Regions from separate parts of the Homo sapiens genome. Here region 1 is linked to region 2. The links are contacts of gene promoters, found by promoter capture Hi-C in human tissues and cell types (Jung and others, 2019). All regions are on one chromosome and are shown on one strand. The core of a region is centred on a gene start or on the middle of the fragment in contact, and the rest is flanking DNA. Distances in the headings are between cores, read along the strand shown.

Region 1 (7,140 bases), core at 1,884-4,383, 1.9 Mb before region 2:
CATTTAATCCTTAAAAAAATACCTGACGCTATTTAATTCACAGGGCTGTTTTAATAATCAATGGAGATAACGTATATGGAAGCATTTTTTATACCTTAAAGCACTATATAAATATTAGTTTTTTTTAAATCACTGTTCACATTTCTGTTAGATCACATGCAAAGCTTCTAAAAATCTGCTACCCACCTAATTTACCCACAGTAAACAGCATGGTTAAGAAAATATAGAGAAAAAGAGATCAGGTATAGTACTAGAAGAATAAAGTGCAGTTTTATCTTTAAGTGGTTTTAAAAATTATTTCTTGGTAATTTATTTACAGAATTTTTCTTATCTGTTGTCCAAATTAACAAAATAAATATTAATAGGTCAGCATGCCAACTGACACTGTAGAATAAAGTAGTAGAAACAGAAGTTCTTAACGCTCTTCCCAATAAGGAAGGATTAAAAGTTAAAGAATGAGGAGAACTAAGAGAACAAACAGCCAGTGGAGATGATTCTTATTTGATGTTCCTCTACTAGTCAAAAACCATTTCAGAGAGTACTTTAACCAAGAGCTCAAAGTAGTTAGTCCCACTACAGATCTAAAGAACAATGACTACAGATAGGCAATACAAAGGTAGCATGACGTCCTACTTAAAGGTGTCTAGCTACTGGAAAGGTCCTATATAACCTAAGGATAGATAATATCAAGCTTCTCAAGTTAATCCTCCCCTGACACCTTAAGGTGTTTAATTTAGCTGGATCCAAGTCCTCTTAATTCAATTTCCAAGCAACCTTACAGTATATTTTAATGAGGTAGAACAGCACTGTCTAATAAAAATATAATGTAAGCCACAATGTAAGCCAAGTGTATGTACTCTTAAATGTTCTAGTAGCCACATTGAAAAAGAATAGGTAAAATTAATTTTAATATTTTAACCCAGTGTATCAAAAATATTATCATTTCCATATGTAACCTATATTAAACAAATAATGAGATATTTTACTTTTTTTGTGCCAAGTCTCTGAAATCTAGTGAGTATTTTACACTGATAGGACATCCCAATTTGGACTAACCACATTTCAAGTGCTCAACAGTCATATATAGCTGTGGTTACCATACTCTGGACAGGGTAGTCTAAAGAATATTCTGATGAAAACAAGATCTTTATATTTTCATATCTATAATAGATCTTACAATGCTCTAAAAATTAGATCATGTTTATGAAATGTACCTGAAAAGCATTTCCTTAACTAACTTATCACAAAGGTAGGTATAATCACAGTCGTTGATATTTTTGTAAGGAGAGTAAAATAACTTATTTTTAAGAAAAAACTATGTATTTGTTATTTTTCAGTTATAAACTACCTATCTCAGCCTTAGTCAGTTTAAAATTAATCTTTTGATTAAAGGGAACTAATCCTATATCTGGTGCCTGCATTTATTATAAAAGTCATGTTCCAAATAGTACACAATGACTGGCAACAACAAAAAAAACAAAACACTTATTGGCTAAGGAGTAAGAAAAGGAAGAAATGGTAGAACAATTATCTTTAATTTATATAAATATAAATTTTAAAACATAGATTTTGATGGCAGAATATATAAGTAAAAAGGCAATGTATCTTGTTAGACAGTGATGGGGTAAGGGTGAGTAGAGGATTAATTAGCTCTGGTTCCAATGTAGAAACTAAAGGGGATTAGAGAAGTCAAAACAAAACTGTAACTTGAAATATTATTTCCCTTGGTTAGTTTAAGCTTAAGCCAGTCAATGCTCTCTCCCCTTTTCTAGAGGAGGCACCACTATTATATACAAGTTGTGTGCAATAGCTAAGGCAAATGAAATTGTATTAGGCACAGTGGGCTTGCTTTTACTACACAATTCCCATTCAGATCTCCTGCTTGAGTTGCAGGGGCTTATTTTTTCCGAAGTCAGGGAAGGAAAGAGGAGGTGAAGAGGCAGGCAAATTTCATCCGCTTTTCCATCTCTGCCCTCACATTAAAAAATGTCAAATGAGGCTTTCTATAATTTCATGCCTCAGGCCTTAAATGTTTATATTTGATAAATATTACAGTTATCATTCTATATTAAAGGAATTATGGACCCCAATATTTAAATAAGCCAGTCATGGCTCAAAGTACTTTATGGAATTCCTTTCTGGCCCTGAATTTTATGACATCTGGCCAAAAAATGGAACTGACAGAGTGTACTTTAAAGTCTTAAGCCATGTAGGTATTTTAAAGCAAAAAACTGCCCTTCAAATTTGGGGATCAGCTATTTTCATTATTTCATCATCACATACTGTGGAAACCACAGGGTACAAGGCACTGTACTAGCTAGACATGATGGGATTTATAGGGTTCAGATTCTTTTCCAACTCTTTAGACCTCCAGGTGCACTGCCAATCACCTTATCTACATCTATCACAAATATAATCCTTATACTAAAAAAAAAAAATCACTTGGAATACTCTTAAGTCAGCTGGTATTCAATGGGAAGAAAATATCTGAGCACTAATCTCTCCAATATCTTTGGAAATCTAGTTGAGAGAAAGCTGCTAAGGTGATGAGCTCCTTGAGGCAGCGGCTATGTCCAGCATGGAGGCAAAATAGAAATGTAATTTTAACTTTTACATTGGTGGTTTTACAATTTTGGTAGTGAATAACATCTATACCCTACACCAGGCTCAGTAACAGTACTTGGCATGACCAACCTTAGTCATCATCACTTTGGTAAGTGCTTTGGCACGGGCCACTGTTGCTAACCACCATCCTGGTGCAGGTCCTTCACATCTGCTCTCCTATGGATGGAAAAAAGGAAGTGTCTAGTGTCCATTCATTGGCCACATCACCTCCAACCCTATCCTTTACTCACATGCCTTTCAATTCAGGTGCAGGAGAAAACCATTTCATTTTTGAGAAGGAAAGTTAATCAGACAAAGCTATGGTACACTCTTAGCACAATAACGACTTGGTTGAATGCAGAACGTCCTAGAGTGAAAGGGAGGGAACTAACCAATAGTACAATGCTGACAGGGTGATGAGGAAGTGTTCTGGCAAACACTTACTATAACAGACAGACACCGTAGTACAGTGGACAGAGCAAACGTCTTGAGTTCTGGAAAATGAAGGTCTAGTCTCACTTTTTAAAATGAAACTAGAAAGAGGATGTATGTGAAAGTGTTTTATAAACTGTTAAAAGGAAATGAATTATCATCAGTCATTAGCTTGGAAATGCTTTGGGCAATTCTTTGGTACTTGCTTCCCCCAATGATAAATCTGATAACGTACTAATCAAATAATGATAAAACAACCTGAGCTCTTTAGAAGAAATAAGTAGTATGTGACTATCCAAGACTTATTAACAAGATTAAATTTCTCTCCACCTGGAATGAATGGTCATTTTTCCATTTTTCTATTAAATACATCAAAATTCTAGGATCAGCACAAATGCTAGCTTTCCTGTGAAACAGTCCCTGAATCATCCAGACAGAATGAACTACTCCTTTTCCTGCATGCTTACATTTCAACATAGAACTCATTTTGTCATTATTTCCTTCTACCTTGTATTCTAGACTAGATTACAGTCATTTCTTCCACTAGAATGTGAGTTTTCCAAAGGCAGAGACTGTCACATTCTCCTCTGAATCTTCCTCAGGTTCCTAGCACGATGCCTTGCACAGAGTAGCTGCTTAGTAAATGTTCCCTGAATTGTACTGAGTTTAGTCTATTTTGGCTTTATGGCATCTTTTTTTACCTCAAAAAAAAGTGGAAAGAGAGAAGAAACTTAAGACTAATGAGGAACACAGCACAAAAGACATGTAAGACGCATAAAGAATGACTTCATTCTTTGCATTACTGCTTTGGAATGCCCACTGCTGATCTTTATACAGTTTTGTCATTGATTGTATTTAGTGAGAGCAAATGTTAGAAAGCACACAAAGGCAGACAATGTAAAACGCCCAACACACGTCATGCAAAAATTCTGTATGATTTGAACTATTCTCAAGGTTGCCTTTTGCTTCAACTTTAATGGCAAAATTGATACCATCAAAGCCAACATAAGACATATTTGCTCTGCTTTAAACATGCAAAAATCAGTGTCACCTTCAGTTGGGCATCTGCTGGGTACTTCCGGATAAGTAGGCATCTTCTTTGAGGCATAGTTTAAATCAGGTGGAAGCTGGGGTATTTCAGACTTGACGTTTGTATATTTATTTGTTGGCAGCTTCTAGAATATGTGGATTCCCCTGAGATTAAAAGGAGAAGGACCTAGCACCTTTGTTTTCTGTGCCTGTGATAGAGATGCCTTATGAAATGGTAGTTCCTCTATTAGTAAGCCAAGTATCTGGATTATACTGTGTAGTCTTAGGCAGTTATTTCCCCTGTCTTCCATTTCCCTACCTGGAGTTTACTCATCCAGGGTAGATGGCCCAGTTAAATGGCATTTGTGTTAAACTTTAAAAACTCATGTTGTTGGTCAGAATATGAAATTTATGCAACTGGTTTACTGTCCTAACACACTAATGTGTTCTACTCAGGTCCTTGCTAACCTTTCCTCTCCAGTTTCTACCAGATGGACTCTGTCGGGTTTGTTTTTTTTTTTTTTTTTGAGACAGAGTTTTGCTCTTGTTTGACCAGGCTGGAGTGCAATGGTGCGACCTTGGTTCACCGCAACCTCCGCCTCCCAGGTTCAAGCGATTCTCCTGCCTCAGCCTCCTGAGTAGCTGGGATTACAGGCATGTGCCACCACACCCGGCTAAATTTGTATTTTCAGTAGAGACAGGGTTTCTCCATGTTGGTCAGGCTGGTCTCAAACTCCCGACCTCAGGTGATCCACCTGCCTCAGCCTCCCAATGTGCTGGGATTACAGGCATAAGCCACTGTGCCCGGCCTGACTCTGTTGGTTCTTATCCTGTTGTTTTTATACCCCTGTGTTTCATTAGCTACATCAGCTCCTCCTGGAAGTGGCCAAGCACACATCTTATCTTTATATATTCATTTTGATCTTATTCTGCCTCCTATAGGTTTGCCCTATCGGTATCTTCTCTGTGACTATTAATCCCTTCTGGGAGGGAACATTTCTGTTCTATACAAAGGTATGGAGAATGTAATTTGCAAAGAGGCAACAATGTCTTTTGAAGATTGTGAATATAGTCAGTTAGCTGTAAATTCTAACCTTGAGAAAGGATGAAAATTTAAAAGGGCTAGCTGGAAGTTACTGAGTTCTAGTCTTATTAGCTTTGTAGATAATTAAGCTATTTACTCCTAAACAACTTCTACCACACTACCAGCATCATACTCTGCAGCGTGGATAAATATCCATACTTGTCACACTCCCCATGTCAGTCTCTTGTTCTTGTCCATTTCTACCCCTAAGCCTCTGCTGTGCCCTTAATCTCTGCTCGTTTCTGTGTTCCACCTTTCCCTTTCATGGTTGGCTCTCTGGCTTTTCCATTCCAATGGCTCCTTCTTTTGACTGAGGGATACTAGCCTTTACACAGTTACTGTGAAAAAGGGGATGGCCAGAAGAAATGCATCTTTAAGTGGCAGCTGCCACCAACACACAGAAGCATTCATTCAAGATGGCTTAAAGAAGATAGTGACTCAATGTATGACTAGAAAATAGAGTGACTCAGCCAAGTATGAAAGGAATTATTTTCTAATAACTCCTCCAAGATGACTAGTTGCTGATTAGTATATACTTGATTTAATTATTTCAAAACTGGTTATTTTTGAAGGGGAAGGAGGTGAGAAGCAAGAGGGGAAGGGGAGTTTTTTGGTTTTTTTTTTTTTTTTTTTTTTTTTTTAGAACTCCTAATTAATACAAGTCCCTGTTTTCAGAAAATCCTTCATGTGAGCTATTTCTTTTCACTTTTTCTTATTGGGTGCATGACATTTTAGAATTCTTGGTTTCAGCAGCAACCCAAAAAGGCGTAATTGCAAACTTACACATCAAAAATGAAAAAATAAAAGCATCATGATTTGAAACAAAAACTAAAACAGGCTAAAACAAAAATACAAGCAGCAGCAAAATCACTGAATCTAACTCACAGCATCTTTTTGAAGACAGGGAGGTTAGTTGGTTAATTATTACAGTGCTCTGGTAGTTACTATCTTAGCTTTGAGAGTTTAAATGTTTAGGAATGCACATCCAGAAGCGGCACATGTAGAAAAACCATGGTAGCCAAGAGCTATCTGAACTACTGCTGCCTGGGCCACCCTATTCCAATCAACATGGATTTCCAGAGTTGCTGTTCTATGGTAACTCTCAGTGAGAGAGACAAAGAAATAGACCATTTTTAGAAACCAAGCAAAAAATGGATGGGAATACAATACCTGGAAAGTTTATCAAGCATGTTGACAAGTTTCATGGCTTCATATTCTTTTTGTTCTTCTGTCATTTCATCTATGGGGTTTGGCATTGGTTCCTCTAAATGACCAGTGATAAGATTAATGCTACAAAAAGAAAAAAAAGTTATGCTGTATGTTTTAAAATTATGCTCTTTCTATACTTTTCTGGTCCAACTTTTAAGTGATAATAAGAAAGAGTATAATAGCCAAAAAATTGGCAATAATTTCAATTTTATGGTATAGAACTGATATAGGAATTTTTAAAACTGGACTTTTCCACTAATTTGCTTTGGGAAATGGGCTATACTTTTTTTAAAAAACGAAAACTGTCTTGCCAACTTTTTTTTTTTTTAGAGGCATGGTTGCTTTTTAAAAATACAAAATTTGATTAGTGCCGTTAGGATATCCGTGGATGCACAGCTTATCCATTAATTCTAAGGGGACACATGATTTCAGGGAAGAAGAAATGAGGAAATCCATTTTGTGATACAGCATAAAACAAACATCAAAAAAAATTGGAAAAATGATGACAGAGAGGCTACAATCTGGAAATGAAAGCATGCCAATTTATAATCTCAGGAAATTAGTCCATTAGTGAGACCACAGAGGGCAATGAGTGTTTAAATAATAAAAGATAAAGCAGAAGAACAATTTTAATTAGGTTTGATCTGGCCTAGACAAAAAAAGGGATGAAATCTAGCCTACCAAGAGACAGGTATATCATCCTGGCTATCTGGAAATAGATTTAATACAGTACTTAAAATGAATACTTTGCATAAACTTTGTATGAGGTTATAATACCAAAC
Region 2 (6,580 bases), core at 1,034-3,533:
AATTTTTCATGTCCAGATAGGACCTTTTCAACTCTTCATTGGCTTCTTTTGTCTTTAGGATTAAATCCAAAGTCCTTAACCTGACCCTCAAGGGCCCGCCCACCTCTCCCTCCCAGGTAGCTCTCTCAGTCTAAGCACAGTGGCCTTTTCCCAAAGCCTTCACAGACAGAGCCTCTTCCTACCAAAGGGCCTTCAAACCTGCAGTTTCCACAGCTAAATGCACTGCCCACCCCACCCCCTTCTCTATGTTGCCTGCCCTAACTCCTCCTTATTCTTCAAGGCTGAGATTAAATGTCACTTCCTCCAGGAGATCTTTCTTACCCCCTAGCACAGACACGCTCCTTTGTTATACACTCTCATAACTCTCAGGCTTTTTTCCAGCAATCACAACAGCATCACCACACAGCCTCAAGTCCAAGCCACTTGCTTCACATTTGAAGTTGCCAGCTGTCAGACGGGAGATGAAGTAGAAATGGGATTGTTGTTGTCTGCACCCATTAGGACCCAGTTTTTTACAAGGGGGCATTTCCTCGCCCGATTCCAATGTGAGTTATTTTCAGGGCTGAAATTTGATTTAAATTTGGATTCCAACTTGAAGCTTAACATATCTCCAAAGTACACACTACTTTGCGGTACTGAATGAAGAATGTAAGTAGAAGGTTGCCTGCCACATGCCATGTAATGCTCTGAAGGACGGTAGAAACCACCAGCTCTCTCAGAAAAAAATGGTGGAAGAATTTTCAAAACCAAGACAGGCTGGCTTCTGTATATGCTTTGTGTAGAAATCTTGAAAGACTACACACTCAGGGGAGGAACACATATTGGGTGGAACTTCTGCCAAACTTTCAAGAGCAGCTACTTTCTAATGATCTGTAATTCAAAAAACAACCAGAACAAAAACCAGCTGGAAATGCAGTCAAAACACTGCTTTTCCATATTCCTTGCAATTATACTTTCATTTTTAGGTGGTGAGGAACACCAGGATGAGTCATTATAAAAAGCATGACTGCAGATGGCCAAGAGTGATACCGAAGCACCCTTCACCCTGAAGGTTAAGGTTAAAGCTCAAAGTCTGATCGCAAAGCATAAGGAAAAAAAAAAAGAACATGGATAAATGTATGCTGGTGTCCTTCAGCACCAGAAAAGCTGCTACTAAATCACTGGTGTGGCTTGGAATTGGTAGAAGCTTTGATTTGAGGAAAAGAGTATCATTAGCTGTGTAATTTTGAGTTGTTGTTTTAGAGACAAGGTCTCATTTTGTGGCCCAGACTGGAGTGCAGTGATGCGATCATAGCCCGCTGCAGCCTTGAACTCCTGGGCTCAGGCGATCCTCCCACCTCAGTCTCCTAGCCACTCCAGGTCTCGCTGTGTTTGCCCAGGCTGGTCTCAAATTCCTGGCCTCAAGCGATCCTCTCGCCTGGTCCTCCCGAAGTGTTGAGGTTACACGCATGAGCCACCAATCCTGGCATTATGGCATTAGCTGTGTAATTTTTAAAATAACTGTCTTCGGACCAACACCTTTCTTTTGTTCACTGGAGTATCCCTGGGGTGTGTCTCATTCCCTGAATCATACACAGTAGATGCTCAATAGTTTTGTAAATAAAATAAATGAGCTCTCGGATTTACATGCAGACTTTGGATCAGTTTGATCTAGGTTTAAAAGCAAGTGTGGGGAAACTTGAAAAGCCTGGCACCCCAGCCAACTCTTCAGCGCCCCATGCGCTTGGCGCCTACACCTGCCTGGCACGGGGAGGGTGCTATGGGGCTGCCCTAAACCTCACCCCCTCCTGCGGTGGTTCCTGCCCGTCTCGGCTCCTGCACCGCCCACACTATGCGCTGCTGGGCCGAAAGACACGTGGTTCGGTTTTAACTCCAGTCTGCAAGAAACATGACCTCAGCCAAAAAGAGGCCGCTGGTCTGAGAAGAGAAATCATGAGTCATGGATTCGGGGGTTCGGACCTTGGAGCAGGCGGTGAAGTGGGCGTGCGTGGGCTGGTGGGGAAGAGGGATGCCGAAGGAGGCCACAGCCCTTCTCTCCTGGGCAGGCTCCCCAGAAAACTGCCCCCTTGCCGTCATCCAGCGCCCCCGTTCCCGACAGCTGTCTGCCAGGGCGCGGCCGGGGTCCGGGCGGGGCGGTGCTGTCGCTCCGGGTCGCCGCCCCGCGGGCCACATCACCAAGGCCCGGGCTTCCCCGGCGGCGGCGCGGCTGCGCTTGCGCGGGGCTGCCGCGCGGGGGCGGGGCGGCGGGGAGTCAGGGGGCCGCGGGCGCCGACGGCCGGGCTGTCAGCTTGGGGCCGCAGCCGCGCGAGGAGGCGCGGGAGCAGGAAGGAGCTGTGGGCTGGGAGCCGCTGTCCTCCCCGCCACCACCGGTGCCGGGCACCAGGTGAATGCCCCTTCCATCCCCCGCCCCTGGTGTCTCGGTCTGGTCTGAGGAGACGGGGACCCTTCTCACACCGGCCGCTGCCGCCGCCGCGCTCCGGAACAGGTGACCATGGAGGGGAAGTCTCGGCTTCGGCCGCGGCGCCGCGTTCGGGCGCATCAGGTGCGGGAGGGAGGTGGGGCCGAGAGGCCTGGGCTCGGGACCCGGCGGCGGGGGCGCGGGGAGCAGAGGGAGCGGCCCCGCCCGAGCAGCCGTGCCCCCTGCGGACGCCTCTCCGGGCCGCCGGGCAGCGCCCGAGCCCAGGCCCCCGCGCCTGCCCCACCTCGGGCTGAGGGAAGCTGTTCCGCGGCCACCGCGGACAAGCGGTCCCGGGCGCCCAAGGCAGGGACAGGCGGCGGGTGGTGTATGAGTGATGGCTGAAGGTGAGCTGGGATGGAGATGCTGCGAGGCTGGCTCGGGCACACCCCAGATGCCTGTTCAGGGCTCCGCGAGTGCCCCGTCACCCTTTTCTTTCATTCTTCTCTTTATATACACGGAGCATATCTCAAATTTAAAAGCCCAAATGCTCATTTACAGAGAGAGATGACACATATCTATGTGTTACCGATATACATTGATGTGTATATTACGTATATATGTCATCTTTTTTTTGTAGTGACAATTTTTAAATTGAGATATACATCACATGCCATAAAACTCATTCTTCTAAAGTGTGGCTTTTAATATATTCACAGAGTTTTCCAAATATGACCACTATCCAGATCATCATCCCCAAAAGAAACCCTGTCTCTCTTAGTAATCACTCCTCATTTCCCCTTGACCCCACCCCACTAGCCACCACTAATCTACTTTCTGTTTATATGGGTTTGCCTGTTGTGGAAATCTCATATAAATGGAAGCGTACAATATGTGGCTTTTTGTGTCTGGCGTCGAAAGACATACTGTAATGTTTTCAAGTTTCACTCATGTAGTATGTATCAGTACTTTACTTTTTATAGCATATTAATATTGTTGTATCAGTGTACCACATTTGTTTATTCATCAGTTGATGTACATTTGGGTTGTTTCCAGTTTTTGGCCATTGTGTGTAATGCTGCTATGCACATTTGTTTACACGTTTTTGTGGACATGTGTTTTCAGTGCTCTTGGGTATATACCTAGGAGGGCAATTGCTCCGTGTTTCACTTTTTGAGGAACTGCCAAGCAAAGCAGCTGTACCATTTTACTTTCCCACTAAGCAGTGTATGAGGGTTCCGATTTCTTCACATCTTCCCCAAGGCTTGTTACTTTTTTACTGGTTATTTTTTATGATAGCCATCGTAGTGAGTGTGGAATGGTATCTCTTTGTGGTTTTGATTTGCATTTCTCTAATGATTGGGGATGCTGAGCATCTTTTCATGTGCTTATTGGCCATTCATATATTTTCTTTGGAGAAAATGTTCATATCTTTTACCCATATTTTAATTGGGTTGCTTGGCTTTTTATTTTTATTTATTTATTTATTTATTTATTTGGAGACTGACTCTCAGTCTGTCACCCAGGCTGGAGTGCAGTGGCACAATCTTGGCTCACTGCAACCTCCACCTCCGGGGTTCAAGCGATTCTCCTGCCTCAGCCTCCCAAGTAGCTGGGACTACAGGCACACACCACTATGCCCGGCTAATTTTTGTATTTTTAGTAGAGACGTGGTTTCACCATGTTGGCCAGGTTGGTCTCCAACTCCTGAATTCAAGTGATCTGCCCACCTCGGCTTCCCAAAGTGCTGGGATTACAGGCATAAGCCACCACGGCCAGTCTGGGTTGCTTAGCTTTTTATTGAGTTTTATTGTTCATTTATGGAAAAAAATTTCTGTTAATAGGTTTGGATACTGGCACTGACTTGAAAAAATCCAACCAATCTGATACCGAAAAACTTAATGCTTATTCTTGGGTAAAGGTTGAATAAGTGCCACTTCATTCTTTAAGAATACCCTACCTGTTCATTCTGGACATCTTACTGACCCCTTTACATTTACTGCCCTGGTATTTTGAGCAAAGCTACAGAAGGCATATTCCTGACTGGAGTCAAGAGAGACCACCCTTAATTGGTATTTTCATATATTCTATGCTCAATTTGAAAATCCCAGTTATCACTTTAATTACAAAAAATTTATATTAGTGGCCAGCTGAACAAACTAACAATAAATGGCAAGCACAAATCACTCAAAAATTTATGTTTAACTTCTCAGTAAAGTGGAGAATCTTGTTTTCTTAAGTTTGTGCAGTGTAGTTTTTATTACAATTATGTTCATGTGTGGGTGGTAAATAAATATTTTTGATGGCACTAAAGTTAAGAGCCACTTACAGCTAAATGAATGCTGCTGTGCTTATTTCATGGTTAATTTCCGAGCGCACACAAATTCAGCATCAGGTCTTTCATGGCCAAAAAAAAAAAAACCACTAAAAAGACCTGATGTTACCTCCCAGGAATTCAAACTCAATTTTCCACTGATCTAATATGATTGTTGTTAAAGAAAAAGATTATTCGATGATACTTGTTAAAATGTGGTAAAAAAAAGTCTATTCAGGACCATTGTGATAGGTAAAGGGACCATGGAATGGGATTTTGCAGTTTGGGAGGAAGACTAGGCTCAATTCTGAATACGGTGTGGGCAAATGGGAATTTATAGCCAAGGAGCAGTGTCATGGTCAGTGGACAGAAAAGTACTGAGAGGAAACACCGGGGGTAGTGGATATTCAGACCAAACCAACCTAACAGGATTCTTGCTGAAGACAGGCCAGAGTGATCAGACACCACCTGGGGGACAGTGGAAGCTGAGGAACCTAATCAGGTTGTGAGGGTAATCAGGTAGCGAGGGTAATCAGAAAGCGAGGGCCAGCTGGGTGCAGTGGTTCATGCTTGTAATCCCAGCACTTTGGGAGGCTGAGGCGGGCAGATCACCTGAGGTTGGGAGTTCGAGACCAGACTGGCCAACATGGTGAAACCCTGTCTCTCCTAAAAATACAAAAATTAGCCTGGTGTGCTGGCGGGCACCTGTAATCCCAGCTTCTCAGAAGGCTGAGGCAGGAGAATTGCTTGAACCCAGGAGGTGGTGGAAGTTGCAGTGAACCGAGATCACGCCACTGCACAGAGCAAAACTTCGTCTTAACTCAAAAAAAAAAAAAAAAAAAAAAAAGCAAGGGCCAAGAGTCAGGGGCTGTTGCTAAACTCACTTGACGAGGTTCTTTGATAAAACTGCATTTTACAAGGAAGTGCACAAATGGGCCTAGAAGGTTCAGGGGCCTGAGTAAAATTTCGTCAAGAAAAGAATCTTTCTCATTGTTGGAAAGTACACTTCCCAATTTCCAAAACTTTATAGAAAATACAAGTAAAGGTTTCCAAATGGAAATAATAGATAAGCAACTGATAAAAAGCATGTGAAGCATAGCCTAACTCTGCTTCAACCTATACATTACAAAATGATGGATATATGAATTAACCCTTTTATGCCACTGCCTTTATTTAGAAGAATGAGGCTGGTAATTTCGGGTTTATAACCCAAAATGTGTTTTTACTTTGTTTTAACTAATGAAATTATTATCAAACGTATTGAAAATATAAACTATCCAACCTAATATTGATTGTTACCAACTTACCCAATGGATATACAAATATCCTGCAGCTACAGATGTTTTCTCTGCCCGCTGGGGTTTTTAGTGGCGCTTATTGGGAAGGACTGAAAGTAGAGGGCAGTGACAATTGGGAATCGCTATGGAGATATCCCTGAGAAGTGATGGTCACAGCTGACCTGTCTCCTTTATGGTAGATGAGGGTAGGGACACTTTTTCTTCTCTCTGAACGTACTGCAGTTAGATTTATTTAGCTTAAAAATAACAAATACAGAAATATTTAGATGGAAATGACTAGAACTGTCAGTTATTCTATTTTAATGTGAATGGATTTAATCAGATTGCTTTCTTCTTGGTTAGCTACACTAAGGAAGTGGGAGTTTTGACTTGAGGAGGGATAGTAGATGTAAGTATTATGAGATCGTGGAACATTTTGGAATATTGGGCAAAGTTTGCCCTACTTCTAAAAGTGAGGATGTTAAAAAATGGAAAGCTTTAGATAGCATGAGGGATCTGAAAGATGAGAAAAGAAAAGCAAGAATGAAACAATTTGGAAGGAAAGATTGTAGGATATAAAGACAGATTCGACTT

Evidence for each region. Contacts are between HindIII fragments. The study calls those that stand out against the background at their distance.
Region 1: a contact is called between a fragment that was not itself captured here and the fragment with the promoter of SLC41A2 in region 2, in 1 of the 25 tissues and cell types used here (heart left ventricle).

What each region holds. Positions count from the first base shown.
Region 1 is chr12:106,870,122-106,877,261 of GRCh38, reverse strand. It overlaps RIC8B (RIC8 guanine nucleotide exchange factor B), which reads right to left. Exons shown (of 10, transcript NM_001330145.2): 9 at 6,320-6,439. The region is part of intron 2 of LOC105369961 (a long non-coding RNA gene); the gene reads left to right. Among named protein-coding and RNA genes, the nearest start is that of TMEM263-DT, 82 kb to the left of the region's middle. RefSeq lists an enhancer at 292-841. The HindIII fragment of the contact is 3,835 bases long and covers 1,216-5,050 here.
Region 2 is chr12:104,953,993-104,960,572 of GRCh38, reverse strand. SLC41A2 (solute carrier family 41 member 2) reads left to right here and starts at 2,283. Exons shown (of 11, transcript NM_001352171.3): 1 at 2,283-2,485. RefSeq lists silencers at 2,105-2,374, 2,565-2,894. The HindIII fragment of the contact is 10,569 bases long and covers 893-6,580 here.